Regions from separate parts of the Homo sapiens genome. Here region 1 is linked to region 2. The links are contacts of gene promoters, found by promoter capture Hi-C in human tissues and cell types (Jung and others, 2019). All regions are on one chromosome and are shown on one strand. Each heading gives the region's core, a stretch centred on a gene start or on the middle of the fragment in contact. The rest is flanking DNA. Distances are from core to core; before and after follow the strand shown. Region 1 has its middle 43 kb from the start of MRO. Region 2 holds the start of MRO (maestro).

Region 1 (2,753 bases), core at 64-2,563, 43 kb before region 2:
GCTCACCATGGCTCCCCTCTCCCTGCCGGGGCTGGGATGCATGGCCCAAGCGTCCCGCACAGCTGGCTGTCTGGTTCCCAGCAACATGCATCCTTCCCCTTCCCTGGCCAAGGGCTTTAACAATATCGGACAGTGATTAAGCTTAAACTTGTCTCCTGGCGGGGCGCGGTGGCTCATGCCTGTAATTCCAGCACTTTGGGAGGCTGGGGCTGGCGGATCACGAGGTCAGGCGATGGAGACCATCCTGGCTAACACGGTGAAACCCTGTCTCTACTAAAAATACAAAAAAAAATTAGCCGGGCGTGGGGGCAGGCACCTGTAATCCCAGCTACTCAGGAGGCTGAGGCAGGAGAATACCGGGAGGCAGAGCTTGCAGTGAGCCGAGATCGCGCCACTGCACTCCAGCCTGGGCAACAGAGAGAGACTCCGTCTCAAAAAACAAAAACAAAACAGAACAAAAAAATCTTGTCTCCCTGGTGGAGGAACCACTTGCATAAGAATAAGACGTTCTTCCCCAGGCATTAAACTTTTTCTTTTCTTTCCCCTTCTCTACCCAGTCAGCAAGTTAACTTTAAAAAATGTTTTTTCTTTTAGAAGATGTTTTACTAGGCTAGGCAACCCCCCCAGCCCCCCACCGCTCCCCCAACTATCACTGTATTATCTGCAAAGTTTTGGCTGTGAAATCAAGCCTCCATCTTGTTTTCTATCCTGAGGGCATAGCTGGTAGCCACTTGGCAGCTTTGTTTAGCAGTCCTGCCTGAGGGGATGAGCCCTCTCGGGTTCGATAGCTGCATGTTTTCCTATCCCTGTCTCTTAAAGGCCCCCAGCCAGTGACTGGGTTCTCTTATGAATGTGTGTACTGTGTATGATGTCTGTAAAAAGAGCTCTAATTAATTTGGCATAAAGAAGCGCAAACCCTTGGATCAACTACTTTTCTTAAGGCAAGGTAAAGGCTGTAGTACCTTTCAGTTCAGGTGACTTTAACCTTCAAGAAAAAAAAACAGCCCTAAAGACTATTGGTAAAATGCAGGTCAGAGGCAAGGTTTGTTAAGTATTTTGAGGTTACAAACTGCTTTCTGGGTTTTGAGAACTATTTGACTTGCCAGCTTCACAACTGGCAAGGCCTAGGGACATGTGGAAGTAACCACCCTTTAACTAAGAAGGCAGACCTTGGCTGCAGTTAGCACACAATTAAAGCAACTTACCAAGTTTTACCTTAAAGTTAAAAATTAGGAGGGATTACCATTATAACATGTAATTGTGGACTACTGGAAATAGATTTAGAATCAAGGGGTATAAAAACAATAAAATGTGGTTTTTGTTTTGTTTTGTTTTTTGGAAAAGGTTATGAGAAGGCATGGAAATGTAAACTGTGGTCTAGGGTTAAAGGATTGTTTTGAGTTAGATAGGAAAAGCTGAAGGTTCAAAGAAGTGGTGGAAGAATTGTGGAAATTAATCTTGGAGAAGAGGTTCTCTGTGTGAAAATATTGACTAAATTCAAAAAAGGGTATTATATGGTTTTTCTGTAAGTTGAGCATTGAAATAAAAGCATAACAAAGTTTTCCTAAGGCGCTAATCTGCTCTTTGGCAAAATAAATAACTTATGGTAATCTGGAATTCTATTTCATAATATCAAGTGTTTTAAACCTCAAACAATTAACAGCCTTCCCAAAATCAAACTTCAGTTTCAAAATTGTCTTCCATGGCACCTAGCTTTTCAGATACTTCAGAGGGTGCCTGAAGTGTCCAGAAAAGAGAGGTAAACAGGATTGTTTGACATGTTTAGGTACATGGGATTGCCAAAATAATGCTCAATCTTCTTTAGTTTATATATTGGGGAATAATGCTAATATGTGTTCCAAAATTGTATGAGATTGCTGAAATTCTAATGTCTGAGTATATGCTATCAATTATAACTAAGATTGTTATGTTACGTTGTTGTAAACCACAGAAGATAACCACACTTCTTTGTCATTTGTGTTTCTAACTGTAACTATCCTGGACATTTTGCTATTCACAGACAGTTGTTGTCTTGTTTTAATCCTTTCAAAACGTAGTTCATAATAAGCTGTAGGACTTTGACAGGTGCACTCAAATACAGGCTTCTGATAATTGGATATTGTGACTTTGGAATACAGGAAAATGTACAGGACTCATGAGCTGAAATGCTCACAAATATCTAGCAAAACAAGAGTTAACTAAATGGACTGAACTCAGGAAGCTGAAGCAACCTTTTTGACTTTTGCTTGGAATATTGCTGATCCTTGTTTTGTTTTTCAGAGTCAAGGAAACTTATTTTGAGCTATTTACAGCCTTTAATAATTAAGCATTTTGATCCTATGATCAAAATTTGGAGGATGTTTGTTTCTCTCTGCCTGGTTCCTCCAGAACTTAGAAACTATCTTTGAGTATTCTTAACCTATGGAAATATAGGTGTTTGCATCAGTTCAATAAGAATTTGTTTTTCTTTTGCAACAGGACAGAATTGGAGAAAATGGTTATTTTACTAAGGCTTTGACTGGAAGGGTATGCTTCCCTTTAAGGAGTTAAGCTCGAATTGCAGAGCCAATAAAAGCCCCATGGGGAAACTGGCCTCATACCCTCATCTTCACAGTCCCTGTACAGGGTTCCTGACCTGTGGCCAGTAAAGAATGTCACTTTCTAACAGGTCTAGGAGCTCCAAGTTTATCTTGGGACCTTAAGAGGAGAGGATCACCCAACTCACAGGTATTTGAGGATACAAACCCGTGGTT
Region 2 (2,867 bases), core at 99-2,598:
TTATAAAACACTTTGATTTTATCTCATCTGTAAAATGAGCAGAAGAAACTGTTAGATTGCTTAAAAATCCTTCCAACACTGAACTTATAAATGACAATAGTAGGCTGCGTGTGGTGGCTCATGCCTATAAATCCCAGCATTTTGGGAGGCTGAGGCAGGCAGATTGCTTGAGGTCAGGAGATCAAGACCAGCCTGAGCAACATGGTGAAACCCCGCCTCTACTAAAAATACAAAAATTAGCCAGACATGGTGGTGCACACCTGTAGTCCCAGCTACTCAGGAGGCTGAGGCAGAAGAATCACTTGAACCCAGGAGACAGAGGTTGCAGTGAGCCGAGATCGGGCCACCGCACCCCAGCTTGGGCAACACAACAAGACCCTGTCTCAAAAAAATGAAAAAAAAAATTAATATTAAAAAAATCGTCTTCATTTTAGAAAAGAAGAAACTGGGCTTAAAGTAATGTTGAACAATTAACTCAAAGTCAAATACTGGCAGAGCAGATTTTAGGACTCTGAAAGATATCCTTTCAGTCACTGTGCTATAAGCCTAGGTTCAGCTCCCAGGCAATGTCCTGTGAGCTGAACGAGGGAAGACAGACCGCATAGACATTTCAGTTTAAAGTGTCAATATCTTCCCTGAGTCCCTGCCATTCTATTATATTGCTGACAATAGAATGATCTATAACCCAACTATTGATCGATTAACATAGTTTGTGAAAAGCAAACAAAATCAGCTTCCTGGTCAACATTGCCCACTTCAGTTTTACAAAGAGAACATTACCAAATCCTACCCCCTAGAGGTCGAGCTCCCATACTGGTGACCAGAGTGACATTCCAGAAAGGTTTTGGGAACCCAAGTGCAGCCAGGACGCCTCCCGCTGCATCTGGCTGCCCCGGCCAACAGTGTCCCTTACCTGCGGCTCCTGCAGGCGGCTGCCACGTGATGAACCGGAGCCCGTTCCTGACTCGGGAGGGCTGCTTTCCCGGGTAGTAGCCAAATGTGATGACTCGGCTAAATTTTCCCAGCCCTGAATTCCTAACATACAAGAAGGGAAATTAGGAGGTGACGCAGGGTCTGTCCAGGATAACGGGTCGGCACAGAGTGTTGGAAAGTGAGAATCAAATAAGAGGGGAAAGTCAAAGTTTATAGAGTATTTGGGCAGGGGAGGGAATTGTTCTGGAATGAAACCGACAAGAATATTGTAGGGTGGCACAAGCATGACTTGCTACCTTTGCTTCCCCACGCCATGCTGAGGTGTTTTTCCTTCTCCTTGCTGTGATTTCCCCTCCTTCTTCCCTCATGCCAGCCTGGTCGACACTTTCTGCAGAAATTCTGCAGATGGCAATTCTGGGGACCTTTCCTCTGCACCAAACAAAACCTCCCTGCCAAGGCCCGTTCCCCATGCGGCCGCGAGATGGCGGCATGACTCAATGGACGGGTTCCAGGCGACCCCTGCACAAAGCCGCCGCCGTGGCTGCCTCCTTCCTTACATAATCCTGTTAGAGCGCATTTAATCTAAGGATGGGACACTGTGTTCCATGCCAAGCAGCCTCATCGTGGCTGATTGTTGCACCAACAACAAGAGCTTTAACCGTTGACGTCCCTTCCTGCTCAAGAAACACCGTATGTCCCGAAAGGAGCGATTTAAGCTCTCAAAATGATTTATTGGTAAAAAGCAAAGCAAAATTAAAACCGGGGAATTACAGCACCTGCAGAATTTAGGAGCCTCTCTCTCTCATCAGCCCTCCTTCCCTGACTCTCCAAACACGTGCATAAATCTATTTAACAATAATTAGTTATCGTCTCGCTCTGCATTGGGTCATAAAGGGAGAAAATATGTCCTGAAAGGAAAAAAGAACAGTTATATTTTCAAAGACAGAGGCACTTATTGTTATGCTAATAGATAACATTCAATTAAAACTTCTGTGTGCCAAATGTTGTGATAAATATTACATAGACTATCTCATTCAATTGTTACATCAAACCAAAGGTTAATACTCCTACTATAGTCTCCATTTTAAGGCTGGAGAAACTGAGGCACAGGGAGATTACCTTGACAAAGGTCATGCAGTTAATTTGTGGCAGTTAAAATTCAGCTACAGGCAGGCTAATGTAAGAGCTTGGACTCAGCCATGATGCTATGCACTGGACTGGTCTAGAAAACCCAGGAGATAAACAGAAAAATATAAACCAGAGAACTATGTCAGAGTGGAAGATGAAAGAAAAAGGCAGAAAGAAAATCGATGCTGCTGAGAAAATAAGAAGAATGAGGCTAAAACACCACCCTCTTCAGATTAAGTTACAAGGGAACCACTGTGACATTTGAGGACACAATTTCAATAGAGTGACAGAGAAAGGAAGCTAGACTGCAAAACTAAGGGGCTATGAGGAAAGAGGAAATTGAGATGTCTTGCTGCAAAAGGAAAGCAATAAATAGACTAGAAGAGACAGCAAGGTCAGGCAAAAGCATTTTGGTTTTCTTGTGTGCTTTTTGAAATGGAATAAAGCCTGGCCTTGTTTGAAAGTGGTTGCAAGGGAGCCCTAATATGTGGCTGGTGCCAAGTAGTGGTAATAGGAAGAGGTGGAGGGGGCATCAAGGGCACGAGGGAAAGGGTTAGCTCTGGAGGAGGAAGAAAGATGGCTGCCTCTGCCTGCAACTGGGAGGCAGCCACAGAGATGAAGATACATCAACACAAAACTGAGAGGAATGGGCGAGTTCAATTCTTCCAAATTAGCTTTAATCTTTTCAGTAAAACCAGAGTTAGGTTATCTGCCAAGAGCGAGAATGAGGTTTATACGGCCATAATCTATATACTGAACTAATCCATGTAGTGCTTAGAATGACCAAAAAGGTAATAAGATTATCC

The links. The method cuts DNA at HindIII sites, captures the fragments that hold promoters and counts their contacts. A contact is called where the count stands out against the background at its distance.
Region 1: a fragment that was not itself captured here is called in contact with the fragment with the promoter of MRO in region 2 in 1 of the 25 tissues and cell types used here (pancreas).

The regions. Positions count from the first base shown.
Region 1 is chr18:50,775,843-50,778,595 of GRCh38, forward strand. No RefSeq gene overlaps it. Among named protein-coding and RNA genes, the nearest start is that of MRO, 43 kb to the right of the region's middle. RefSeq lists an enhancer at 329-1,036. The HindIII fragment of the contact is 4,394 bases long and covers 1-2,753 here.
Region 2 is chr18:50,818,668-50,821,534 of GRCh38, forward strand. MRO (maestro) reads right to left here and starts at 1,349. Exons shown (of 8, transcript NM_031939.6): 1 at 1,230-1,349; 2 at 914-1,035. RefSeq lists enhancers at 1,034-1,667, 1,504-1,553. The HindIII fragment of the contact is 21,582 bases long and covers 1-2,867 here.